2 separate regions of the Homo sapiens genome follow, and region 1 is linked to region 2. The links are contacts of gene promoters, found by promoter capture Hi-C in human tissues and cell types (Jung and others, 2019). All regions are on one chromosome and are shown on one strand. The core of a region is centred on a gene start or on the middle of the fragment in contact, and the rest is flanking DNA. Distances in the headings are between cores, read along the strand shown.

What was found. Contacts are between HindIII fragments. The study calls those that stand out against the background at their distance.
Region 1: a fragment that was not itself captured here is called in contact with the fragment with the promoter of CDH10 in region 2 in 1 of the 25 tissues and cell types used here (dorsolateral prefrontal cortex).

The regions. Positions count from the first base shown.
Region 1 is chr5:26,323,696-26,330,748 of GRCh38, forward strand. No RefSeq gene overlaps it. Among named protein-coding and RNA genes, the nearest start is that of TRK-CTT9-1, 130 kb to the left of the region's middle. The HindIII fragment of the contact is 6,629 bases long and covers 685-7,053 here.
Region 2 is chr5:24,640,497-24,647,594 of GRCh38, forward strand. It overlaps CDH10 (cadherin 10), which reads right to left and starts at 4,482. Exons shown (of 12, transcript NM_006727.5): 1 at 4,098-4,482. It overlaps LOC124901174 (a long non-coding RNA gene), which reads left to right and starts at 4,213. Exons shown (of 2, transcript XR_007059125.1): 1 at 4,213-4,576; 2 at 4,815-5,018. RefSeq lists an enhancer at 4,179-4,774. The HindIII fragment of the contact is 10,153 bases long and covers 1-7,098 here.

The DNA.
Region 1 (7,053 bases), core at 2,749-5,248, 1.7 Mb after region 2:
CTTCTGATTATTTCCTAAGTAATTTATTCTTCTGAAAAATTTACAAAGTATTTTAGAATTTCAAATAGATGTTCTTTCTATAAGTACCTTAAGATCAACAAATCGAAATAGTTATAATTTATGTATTTACGTCATGGGATACTTGGGGTGTTGCTTTGCCAGCCAGAAACCTCTGCGGTCAGTGGCACCTTTGCCTGAGTTTTGCTTGGCCCCGCGGGGCTTGGTCCACCCACTTGGCCTGGCAGGTCGCACTTGGCTTGCGCTACTGGCCTGAATCCAATGCCCACCAAAGGTGAGCCAGGCACAGAGTGGCGAAGGGTGTATGAGCGAGCGCAGGGTCTGGCCACTGCGCACATCCAGGCATGCCTGCTGCAGTGGGGTGGAAGCTCCAGGTGCAGGCATGGGCACCAGCTCCCTGCAAGGTTGCTGCTGGACCAGCCGTACCTCAAACACCTTTCACAGTTGGCACCAGAGAATGCAGTGGCGCCAAAACCTTGGAATCACCAGTAACCACAGAACCCCAAAGAGGGTTTCACAGCCCTGGTGAGAGGTGACAGCGTGCTGGCAGTCCTCACAGCCCTCGCTCGCTCTTGGCGCCTCTTCTGCTTGGGCTCCCACTTTGGCGGCACTTGAGGAGCCCTTCACCCCACCACTGCACTGTGGGAGCCCCTTTCTGGGCTGGCCAAGGCCAGAGCCGGCTCCCTCAGCTTGCAGGGAGGTGTGGAGGTAGAGACGTGAGCGGGAACCGGGGCCGCGCGCGGCGCTTGCGGGCCAGCTGGAGTTCCGGGTGGGCGTGGGCTTGGAGGGCCCCGCACTCGGAGCAGCCGGCGGGAGTAGCCGGCGGGAGCAGCCGGCGGGAGCAGCCGGCCGGCTCTGCCGGCCCGGGGCAATGAGGGGCTTAGCACCCGGGCCAGCGGCTGCGGAGGGTGTACTGGGTCCCCCAGCAGTGCCAGCCCACCAGCGCTGCGCTCGATTTCTCACCAGGTCTTAGCTGCCTTCCCGGGGGGCAGGGCTCGGGACCTGCAGCCAGCCATGCCTGAGCCTCCCACCCCCTCCATGGGCTCCTGTGTGGCCCAAGCCTCCCCAGTGAGAGCAGCCCCCTGCTCCATGGCGCCCAGTCCCATCGACCACCCAAGGTCTGAGGAGTGCGGGTGCCCAGTGTGGGACTGGCAGGCAGCTCCACCTGCAGCCCCGGTGCGGGATCCACTGGGTGAAGCCAGCTAAGCTCCTGAGTCTGGTGGGGCCTTGGAGAACCTTTATGTCTAGCTCCGGGATTGTAAATACACCAATCGGCACTCTGTATCTAGCTCAAGGTTTGTAAACACACCAATCAGCACCCTGCGTCTAGCTCAGGGTTTGTGAATGCACCAATCCACACTCTGTATCTAGCTACTCTGGTGGGGCCTTGGAGAACCTTTGTGTCCACACTCTGTATCTAGCTAATCTTGTGGGGACGTGGAGAACTTTAGTGTCTAGCTCAGGGGTTGTAAACGCACCAATCAGCACTCTGTCAAAACAGACCGCTGGGCTCTACCAATCAGCAGGATGTGGGGGCCAGATAAAAGAATAAAAGCAGGCTGCCCCAGCCAGCAGTGGCAACCCGCTCGGGTCTCCTTCCACCCTGTGGAAGCTTTGTTCTTTCCCTGTTTGCAACAAATCTTGCTACTGCTCACTCTTTGGGTCCACACTGCTTTTATGAGCAGTAACACTCACCGCGAAGGTCTGCAGCTTCACTCCTGAGCCAGCGAGACCACGAACCCACCAGAAGGAAGAAACTCCGAACACATCCGAGCATCAGAAGGAACAAACTCCAGACACACCACCTTAAGAGCTGTAACACTCACCGCGAGGGTCTGCGGTTTCATTCTTGAGGTCAGTGAGACCAAGAACCCACCAATTCCGGAAGCACTGGCTTGGGGATTTCCCAGGTCTGAGCTCCCTGTAGGGCTGCAGCTCTTCTTTCCTTCTCTCTTCTCTCCTTCTTGTCACCCACAACGTGGCAAGCAAGGGGCATGTTTCAGCCCTGTTTGTGTCTCATTTCTCTTAACCCTGCCAGTAGGCAGTGCCGGAGTTCTTGTCCTGCACCCAGGAAGAATGAAGTACGCAGACAAGTGGAGGGTGAGCAAGGCAATGAGGAGTTTTATTGAGCAGCTCAGAGGAGACCCACAATGCATAGCTCCTCTTTGCTGTCAGGGTGACCCAAAGAATGTTCAACTCTGAGCAAAGAAGAGACCCTGGAGTGGGTGGTTCATCTCCACAGCTTGCCATCCTGTCATGTCCTCAAGTATGGCTCAGTTCAGGGCTTTTATGGACCTCAGAGGGGAGGAAGTGCATGCCGATTGGTCCATGGGTGGCCATGGTGGGCCCTGAAAAAACCCCACAAGTCCCCATTCTAGTCCGCAGGACCCGCAGCCTGCCCTGGGATTCAAGTCCTCCCAGCTTGAAGGTGGAGCTTTATTAGGGACACGTCCCCTTCCACCTAGGAGCCTGTCTGTCTCTTGCCGCTGTTCATGGAGCCCAGGCTGTTTACGTGAAGCGGCACCTGCAGTACAGCACTGAGCTGCCCTTCACCTCCCCTCAGCTTCCCTCACATGCTCATCAGCACCCAAAGTCCGGCGGGGGCGACATAGCGGGGAGCTTGCGTGTCAGCGCTACCCCAAACATGTGTACACCCGGCCAGGCTGTGAAAACACCTGGATTCAGGACCAACCTCCCTTCAAGATTGGTGCCAGGAGCTGGAAGAAGTCAGGCAATGGGAGCAGACATCTCTGAGCCTGAAAGTGGGGCAGGGTACAGAGATGCCCGGGTCCGCAGCCGTGGCTCTATAGCTGTACCCAGGAGGGTGAGGCTACCGCTTGATATCAGCTCCCGCCCGCTCCATGGAGCATGCAGCCCAGCCACACCTACCCCACTGCAGCTGGTGTCTTGGCAGCAGCCACTGCTCATTGCTGCCATCATTTACATTATAGCAAATCACTTAATAAACATTTACTAAGTGGTATCTATATGCTAAACATTATCCTTTGTTGTTGTAGATTTATCAGAACAGATATTATCCTTAAAAACTTAACATGTATAGGCCAAGCGCGGCGGCTCACGCCTGTAATCCCAGCACTTTGGGAGGCTGAGGCAGGCGGATCACAAGGTCATGAGATTGAGACCATCATGTCTAATACGGTGAAACCCCGTCTCTACTAAAAATACAAAAAATTAGTCGGGTGTGGTGGCAGGTGCCTGTAGTCCAGCTACTCAGGAGGCTGAGGCAGGAGAATGGCGTGAACCAGGGAGGTGGAGCTAGCAGTGAGCCGAGATCATGCCACTGCACTCCAGCCTGGGCGACATAGCGAGACTTGGTCTCCAAAAAAAAAAAAAGAGAAAAAAAAGAAGAAAACCTTACATGTATATACACAATTCACATTCACATGCATTGGTACACACATGCACGTGCTCGTGCACACGCACGCACACAATGTAGAGGAGTCAAAAGAGAATGAGAAGAAAATTCCACCGTAAAAAAATGTGAAAATAATCCGAGAATGAAAACTGATAATGTCTATTGAATTTAGCAACATGAAAGTCAATGATAACCTTAGGGATAAAAATGTAGGTTTATTGATGTGTTGTAAGTGTTATGAAAGGAAGATCATGAGTATAGAACTTAAGAGGAAAGAAATGGGCTAGTAACAGGAGAAAAAAGTGTGAGATATAAACAGACACTGTTATTGTGTTTGTATGTTTTCATATGTTTTGCTTTTTATTTTATCAGGAAAGACTAGAGTACACTTCAATATGTGGATGTAGTTAAATTGTAAAAATAAGGCACTGAAAATACATTTGAGATAGGATACGATATGTGCCTGGCTCCATATTCTCTCTCTTTCTCTCTCCTCCTTTTTTTTTCTTTTTTAAAATTTGAGACAGAATGTTACTCTGGAATAAGTGGAGTGCAGGCTGGAGTGCAGTGGTGTGAACACAGTTCACTCCAGCATTGACCTCCCATGTTCAAATGATCCTCCCATCTCGGCCTCCCAAGTAGCTGAAACCATAGCTGTATGCTGCCACTCCTGCCTAATTTATTTTTTACTTTTGTAGAGATGGGGTATTGCTATGTTGCCCAGGCTTGTCTTGAACTTCTGTGCTCCAGTGACCAGCCTCAGCCATAACATCTTTTCCTAATGAAATCCATGGTCTCCCACTTAATTAGTGCATTGAGGAAAAAGCTTACAAAATTATTTGTTTTCGCAGAGAAGTTCCTCCTCCATTCTTCATTCTACTCTCAATTGTCATAATGGAATTTACTGTAAGTAAGAAATACTAGATTATTGTGAACAGAAATAACCCACTTCAAATTTCCTATTTTGTAAAGGCAATAAGATAAAAATATAGAATTCACTAATGCTAACTTAATTATTGATTGATGAATTGCATCCATGTATGTTACGATCTAAATGTTGAGAACTGTGAAAAAGAACGAAGATTTCTAAAGAATAAACTTCTGATGTGAGATAGTGAAGGTATCAGAGGAAAATGAAATATGACATCATGAAGCAAAGACAAATTATTCCTGGAAACTAGCAAAATAAGATATGCCGTAGCCCTGAAAGTAAATAGCTGAATCTCTGATCTTGGAAGTAAAAGAAAGAGGCAATGCTTAAAATTTGATTATTGACTTATACTCAGATTACCTAATTTAATGGGACTGAATCCTTAATTGATTATGCTATTTCAGTACCTACTCTAAATGATAAAACTCTTCACCTTCCCTCACTTTATACTCAGTTTATTATGTTATTAAATTATTCAACATATTTACTAGGTATCTAACTTGTATTACTCTGCAAAGGCCTACAGATAATAAATATGGTTCCCTTTGTGAGGGCATTTAATACTTGGCAAGAAACATGCATATATGCTATAAGCTGCAATAAAACTTGCTACGTGTTATTGCAGATCTTACTTACATAAATGTGCATGGGAACAAAGAGAACCGGCAATTATATACCTAGGGAGTTGGGGGATGATTTATTGAGAAGGTGGCATGTAGAGGTTTCCTGAGAAGTAAGTAAGAAAATCTTCACGTCCATTAAGAATGAGGGAGATTGATTTTTCTAGGGAGAAGAAGTAGTTAATTCAATAGCATGGAACACGAATTGGGCAAGGAGAAGCAAGGATGATAAGTCATCTTCTGTTGTGCATTTTAAGTGCTCACTAGAGGAATTGGCATGTAACATAATAAACTATCACATGGTAAAAACATGCATAATATGCTCAAATCACTCATATATTTATGTTCTCAAGTAGAATATGCGTTTCTAAATTGTGCCCCTTTTTATTGTGGGAATCATCCATTATGTATCAATAGTGTCATTAGTGCTTCCTTCTAAGGATATTTTAACCATCATATTATAGCTAGTCTACTAAAGAGGCCAGAGCATTCTCACGAGTCTTGTAAGTTTTTAAGAGAAATAAATAAATTGAGCCTGAACAATGAATCTAAAAATGAAATATGTTCCTGCTAGAAATGGATAACTTCATATCATCATTCATCTGTTCATTATTTCATATTTATTCCTTTTATTTAGTCATGTCTTCAGTGCATGATTTTTTTTTAAAGTTTTCTATCTGCCAATGTATTATGCTACAGTCTGTGAATAAAACAATTAACGAAACAGACTTAGTCCCTACCTCACAAGGTTTATATTTGAAAGGAGGTAGTGAATATGCATTCAGTCAACCTTGACAAAATTAATTATTCAATTAAAATTGTGTTGAATGCTACAAAGGAGAAGTGCATGTTGTTTTAGGAAAGCATAAGTGGAACTAAACTTGCTAAACAGTCAGGGAATTTTTTTTCCCTCAGGAAGATAAAACAGAGATTGGAATTACTGTGAGAGAATACAGTTCCTTCTGCAGCTGATGTTATTAATATTATTTCAAATTAATTATCGGAGCATTTTATCTTCCATATGCCTGATCGCTATTCACTTTAGCTATGTTTAGTCATCAATTTCCAACACTTTAAAAAGTAACTGTAGTCGTAGTTTGAGATTCACTACCACTCCCTCCTCTTGCCTGACATCTAGTGGAAGAGAGAATCAGTGGGAAAATCACCCAGAGGAATTAAAAATAGAGACCAAGCAGTAAAGAAAAATAGCAAAGGAAATATCCTCTTGAATCACTATATTTTAAGAATGGGTGATAGTATACACATTTCATTGTTATACAACTATTATATGTGCTTGAACTATATATTCAATCCTAATTTTAATATATTTTTCTATAAAATTCCCGAGTAATTGGCTAACAATACTATTCACTGATATTGCATCACTGGCAGAAAAGTAGCTTTCTCCTCATTAAGGCTTTCTTCTTTCACTAATCTTGAAACATAAGATGCATATATGCAGAATATGCACTCAAATTAGCTCATTCCAGCTTTCCCTAGAATGTGAGTACACTCTTTAATGATGTTTAAATTTTCTATAAAGTCCAATTTTCAAACTCATACAAATGAGAGTAAATTAGTACATGGGTTTCCAGGTTATGAAGACAGCACTTTGATTCAAACACTAACCAATACACATGCCTTTTACATCACATTACACAACATATCATTGTAGATAAAGTAAAGTAGTAATTGTGAATAGCCTTAAATAATATACTAAAAATTGCTCAGTTCAGTTAAGATTTAATTCCAGGAAAACAGAAGTAGTAGATGACTTTCATAGTTTAATTACCAATAGCTCTATTTGCTCTGAACAGTCCATTATTTTGTGTGTGTGCATTTGTGTGTGCATGTGTGTGTGTTTGTGTCTGTGTGTGAGCATGATGGTGTATCTTTTATATAGTTTTCAAGTTTCTCTCGTAAAACTAATACTATAAGAGGTTATTTCATTTTTCTACACAATGAGGTAAAAATAAAACTCAAAAAGATTGAGATATGAATATATGATTATCTTCCTTAGGCAGGCTCACAGTGATTAGTAAAATAGCAAATATATTTCCTTTGGGAAGTTTAAAAGTACATCTTTAATCTCCTTTCCACTTTATATT
Region 2 (7,098 bases), core at 3,232-5,731:
ATCATATAGAGTATGTTGAATCAAGACTACTTTCTTGAAAAAAAAAAAGAAAAGATTGAAAATTGAAATCATGTGATTTCGTAAAGTGCTTATAATGTTTCTGACAAACTCTCTAAGGATACGAAACCCTTTACTGAAAGGCATTTTTATATGAAGGCATTTCAATCTCCCACAGGCAGGCATTATTTTGAAGGAATGCTACATTTTATTTCCTAAAATGATGTAAAATGTGATTTTATTGTATTCCTTCTTATTTAATTTGCAGCTTTCCCTTTCTTTAGTTCCATAATGTTTAACCAATGTCTCTTAAAGTGTATAGGTCATCACATACATTGCCAGAAAGAAATCAGATAAAAATATAAAGAAACTGATGAAAATAAAGCACTTTCATTCTTAAAAAAATCAAGAGTTACTTTTTTGTGAGAAGTTGCATTGATAAGAGAGTTAAGCAAAAGTTGTATTAATAATTTTTAAACAGGTCAGATTATTTCAACTCATCATTGTTAATATTTCATTAAGAATAATACATTCCCAGAAATCTACAAATTTAATGTGATGGGTCTTATTTTTTGACAATATGTGTCTACAGTTAGTTCAAGTGAGTGATGACAAGAAGGTATGGGAAAAGCAAAATGGACTTATACGCTTTAGGTGCCCTTCTATTCAAGAAAGACAGGAGAAATGGATTATAAAAGGGCTCAAGGGCTCATACTAAAATGTCAAGTGAGGTGAGACTGCTCTACAGTCAGAAAAGAAGAGGGCACAGGCGACCCAGAGCTGATATTGTTATCTTAGAAAACAGGCATTGCTTGGTAATTGTTTGAAATTGTTTCTTGTTCTTATGCATGAAAAAAAAATCTGTAATTTTGAAGGTTGAACTTATTGGGGTAAATGCAGAAAATTATATGAATGCTCCGTGAATATCATCCAAAGGTTTCAACTAGAAAGGAAAAAGGCAGATTTTCTTTTAAATTTAGGACTTGTATTTTTTCTGTAGATTTCAGATTATTGTAATTATGACAAAACAATATATTTTTGTGAACTCATTGGTCTGTGTAAGTGTCAAGAAAAGATAAATAGATTTGTCTGTGCTAACTTTCAGTTTTTCAAATATGCATCTATAGTGTCATTCCGAGAACGCTTCTTTTTACTACTTAAAATATCATAATATGAACCATATATTGTACTTAGTATAACGCTTAATCAATTTTACCATTGCTCAGTATACGTTTAAGAAGGATGAGGAAATGTTTCTTGCTACTTGGTTTTTAACTTCAATCTATTCCAGACATGACTGTTAAATACAATATGGTTAGTAAGTTGTCTCTTTTGAAACCCTATTCCAGATAATATGTTGGGTTAATTGAAAGTAGAGTTTTCAAACATAGACCTGAAATTTAGAGATCAAATATCTGCATAAAATTACTTATAATTGGCATAAATAATTTTACTGTTTTTCTATTTATAATTTCAGTATTTTACAAGTACTTCTAATGTGACAGCAGTATTAGAATGTAATTTGCATAGTAGAAATCAGAATATAATATGGCTAATGCTTTTAATACCCAAGGGCTACACTAGAGATAGTTGGGTTTGCATCACTGGTTTGTATTAATTGCTTACTATGAAACACTATTACTGATAATAACACTTAACAAGAATATGGTTCACTTTGCTGCTGATTCAGCATCATCAGAGCCAATACTGCTGCTGTGCTGCAGCCTAGTGGAATGATTTGGTATAAAAATGACATATTCCAGTAAGACGTGTTATCACTTACTGCAAAGTAGGTTAAGAGACATAGGAAATCAGTCATAAGCACAGAAATCCCCCAGATAGTATATACTTTGCCTCAGTTATTTGCTTATATAAAAAATTAAGTAAAGGTCAAGAAATTCACCCTATTTTTTATGCAAGATTCATATATTTTGGAATTAACCTTTCCAGTTTCAAGTAGTCTATTTTTCAACAAGAAAAAAAACATACCTCTTCCAGATTACACTAACTTTGTAAATAACGTGTCAGAAATATCACTCTAAATTAAAATCAGTTTTGTATCCTCTCTTTTTCTTTTTTAAAGAAAATCCCAGTGTGGGTAAAAATCTAACAATGAAATATTAAATTGATTACCTGCATAGCACTGTTCTAATTAATAAACAGTTTCTATAAACATCAAGGAACATCACCTAGAGCATTAATCAGGTACCAAACAATTTAACCATTGACTTCACACATATGCATATGTAGGTGGATGCTCATACAGTTTACCTTCTTTTTTCCCATTTCCCAGAGATTTTGGTTTTGTTTGTTGTTTTTTTTCCCCCAAACCTTTAAGTGTATGAAATTCTATTCTTTGATTGAAGTCAGGGAAGGCGTATGCATTCACCAGAGAAGTCAATTTGTTCACAGCAAGTATTTGAAACCCAAGAAGTATCTGATTTAATGAAAGCAGACATTGACTCACACTTTAATAACACAGCCAAAAAAAAAAAAAGTGAAAGAAGTATTTCTTTATATTTTTATCATCAGAATGGGTTTGCATCTGACGTGTCCCTAAGGCACAGATCCACGCTGTTTACACCTGTGCACTCTCCAGTCTCTTCACCACATCCCTCCCCAAATAAACCATTACTTCCTTATGCATTGCACATTGAATACATATGTGCCACATTTAGTACACTCGGGGGAGCGGGGTGCAGATTATCTATGCGACTTAGCATTTACCTGTGTTTCTAGGACATAACCTCTTTCTTTCTTCTTCATCACTTTTAACTAAAAATGAACATACGGCTCTGTCAATGACATAATGTTTTCATGAAAGTTCTACTAATTAAAAATCCTCACCATACCAGACCTAAAAAATGAGCACACTCTTGCCAAGTGTTATTCACCACAGAGAAGCTCTTGTAGCTACGTTTTAAAGGAAGATAGAGAGGGGGATGGTATGGAGGGAGAAAGTCTACTAACATATGCATTGAAGTATAACAGTTGTCAACATCAGAAGGACAGATTATTTTTAATACAGATCCTTCAAGAAAAAAAAAAAGAGGAGAAAAAATAATGTATCTCCAAAGAGCTGAGAAGTAATGGATGTGCAGTTTTGGATAATAGAAGCTTTCACTGGAATGAAGGAATGAAGGACCACAATTATAGGAAACATCTGTTTTTTCAAAGCAAAAGATGATAGGTCATTTTTAAAACAATATTTGTCTTTGTACCTGTAGACTCCCCTTTTTTCATAATAAGGAGACAGTAGGTTTTTATTTTAGTGGCATAAAAACAATTTCAGACTACTGCTTTTGCCCATAGTTACAGTGCTATCAATAGTTACTTGTTGGGGACATGCATTTATACTTGCAATATGCTGCATTAATTTAACAACACATAAAATATGGATTTTATTGCAGCAGAAACAATAAATGCTGCAACTGCTGACTACATGCATTTACTCTCCCTCTCTTTACCTCTCTCCCCCCAATACTTCTGACTCAGATATAAAATTGAAAATAAGAATTCTGCCTATTCTATTTCTGATGAATGTCAATCTATTGTATTTATGTAGATGCTTAGTGACCATTGACAGTTTCAAGGAATCTGTCTTCTGCCTGTCATTTCTGTTTATATTGAACGTACAATGAACTATGACTACGAATAAGTGCAGAGTGAATCCATTCATATGGAATGCAAAGTAATGTTAGATGATGTTAGAGTTCACAGTAACAATGTTATCTCTTGAACTGATTTTTAAAATAAAAATGAACAAGTCTGGGCATGACAAATTCACTTCATAACATATTTTTTAGCATTTGTTCCAAGTGAATGAATTCACAAACTCTAATATCATGACCCACTGTTGAGCATAATATATAATTTATCCAGCTTTACATTGCCTATATAGATATTCGAAGCAGTTGTTTCTAGAATTAAATATATAGAGTTGTATGCTTATTTAAGTATTAAAGATAATTATTTTGAAATAATTGCTAAACACAACTTAAAAACAAACATTTATCTCCTCCCTCTCCCCCCCCACCCCTCAAGTGGAGGAATATATAATACCTTAACGGAGTTAAAAGAAAGAGGTGAAGTCTTCCTACCTTTTTTATCAGCTTCTGGATAATGGAAGTTGGTTCCAGCCAAAATAACCCAGGAGAAATTGTCACTATGTCCCCTTTTTGTTTGTTTTCGGCTGTTATTTTCTATCACTGATTCTACTTCAATCTAACTCAAGCTCTTTCTCAGCATCACTTTTAACTCTGGACAGCAGGGAACCGAAGAAAACGGGGGCGAGCTCTCTCTGATTGGCTTTCATTCAGTGCTTCTGATTAAGGGGAAAGGAAAAAAAAAAAAAAGGAAAGGGGGGAAAAAAGCTCTTCCTCACACGGAGAGAAAGGTTCTGCTGATAGAGCTGCAGCACTCGCCATGGGAAGGTTAGAGACTGTGGAAGTGCTGGCTTCTGCGAGCACACAGCGATTTGCAAGTGAATGCGAGGGGAGGGCGCATCCGAGAGGAGGGCTTTGCTTGAAAGGCGTCCCCTCCCCCGCAGGGCAGAAAGACTCTCTGTTTCAAGGCTAAGGTAATCAGCCCAATCTAATCCGCCTGTGTCCGTAATACAATCTCAGGAACAGGACTGCTTCTTGCAATTTTTTTTAAAAAAAGATAGTTCTTCTGGAATATATATTCCTGCACCGTCCTTACACCAGACTACCGAAATCCAAGTATTATCAGAGCGCCAAGTCAAATTGCAACCAGATTTGATATGTTACCAGAGTGATTTTTCGTTGTGATTTTAAATGTTTATTTTTTGCTTTCAGGGAACTTTCTCGGCTTGATTTTCCAAATCCCTTCTCTTGTTGCTTATTGTCACAGGAGTGCATACCTCGCTCATCATTTTGGAATGTCCGCGAGCCAGTCTTCTCTGCCTAATCTTTGCATTTTAATACTTTATAGATAAAATATTTTATTAAAAATGTAAATATGTAATTAGTGTTATTAAAATATTTAGACTTTGAACTTGACACAGTCTCCTTTTTTTTCTTTTTAACGTTGTTTTTTCTCATAAATACGGGTTTCATACCCAAATGAGTGTGTGGACAGATGTAAATACATTTGGATTGTTCTATCTACTTAAACATCTAACTGTCTCGCTATTTATCAATCTCCACATCAAATTGCAATCAACCAAACCTTACCAAAGGATGTCAGTATAGCTCCACAAAGTAATTAACATCTTTGCATTTTTCCGGCTACAGGTAGATTCCTTTTAAAGTGCCATCCATAAATAAATTATATACACATATACATACATATATGCATATAAATACATATATGTCAATTATAGTTTTAAAGCTAGAGGAGAAATTACGAAGATCATTTTGGGCTGTTATTATTATTATTTCTTTAGCAGATAAAAATGCTCAGAATGTTAAATTGTCACAGGACTAACTGGAGGCGGGGTCAAAGCTGTAATACCACACTCCTACTTCCAGTTTAGTATTGTTTCCGGTTGCCATACTGCCTCCTCTGTACCTGTTTGATCATTCTAACAGTCAACAGGCCCCTTACATAATCAGCACAATGAAAAAGGAAGAAACTCAATCTGAGGGGCAAAAAAGAAGTGAGAGGGAGATTCAAAATTAGATTCCAAAAAGGTTTTAATGTATCACAGTGTTATTATATGATGAATTTTACCAATTAGTTTTATATTTGAAAACACCAAACATTTCCACTGAGCTGAACAGCTAAATGACATTTAGAGCAGAAATGGACTTTTGAAACTCTTAATTTTACAGACGATGGCATTAAGATCAGGAAAATTTTATGGCCCCTCTAAAGTTTGATAATAATAGAGCTAGAATTCTGAATTATCACCGTATCATTTGCCCATAGTTTTTGTTATGTTTTGTATGTTTTCTTCGACAGGGTGCCTTAATTTCAGAGTCAAGTGAAAATAGATATTCAGTTTTTTACCTCTGATACGTATATTTGTGTGTATTTGTGTTTGCCTGGTATATGTGTGTATTCAATATAATACTGTTATTGACATGTTAAATTAGCTATCAAGAGAAATTTATAATATTTAATTAAATGCAGCAGGTTAGGTACACACACACACATTGTTCTCTTATTAAATTAACTATTTCCATATGTTTGTTTAGTGCTAATTTCAAAATGTATGACTACATAATGTGAAGAATTTGGGGGTTACATTTAAATGGGTCGAGAAAATAACCAAAGGCTAAGATCTGAGGTAAATTGCTATTTTATTAATTAGAATACATGTTGAAATGATGTATTCCCAAAATAACATTTTCTGAATTATATAGTTTATGCTTCTCTTACATAGGTTTTTGGTTGGTGTGTTTATTCTGCCCTGTCTAGTCATCAGAAACTCAGCTTCCTTCTGTCTTGATGCTCAATGTTTTTAAGGAATTGAACTCATTTATATGATCCAGGAGAGATCACCACACATCTACCTTCTAGAAAAAGGAATAAAAGGAACAAGAGAAAGTTGCTCCCGTCCTTTGAAAAATGTGACCCTGAACATGTACATGTCACTTTCATGATCTCATTGGGTGGAATTTAGACACTTGGTCACACATTGTTGCTAGGGAGGCTGGGGATGTGGTATTTACTCTCACTATTTGCCCAGCTAAAGTCACTGGTGCTATTAGGGAGGTGACAGAATTGGGTACAAACAGCAGGATTGTCTATTATATTCATGTATTATAGAGTAGTATATTTGGTATAATGTACTTTTTTGGAGAAAAGCAAATTTTTATTCTAGTTTAAAATTAAAATTATGTTATAATGCTAGTGAAAGGTATCTATACAAAATAACGTTAATAATATTTTAACATTTATGAAACAATTGTCAGTTATTGCATTTTTTCTTTTTTTGATCAAGTAATATAATTAATAAATAATAGGCAAAGCATCCATGTATTCCAAAGTTCAGGGGATCTAGTTATAGATGTGAGAGAATGAAGAGGAAAACATTTGAACAATAAATGAATTAAACCCATTCACATTTTTCTTAATGCTCATCTTAGAAAGACTCTATATCTGAGATCAAATGCCATCCTATCGAATATACGC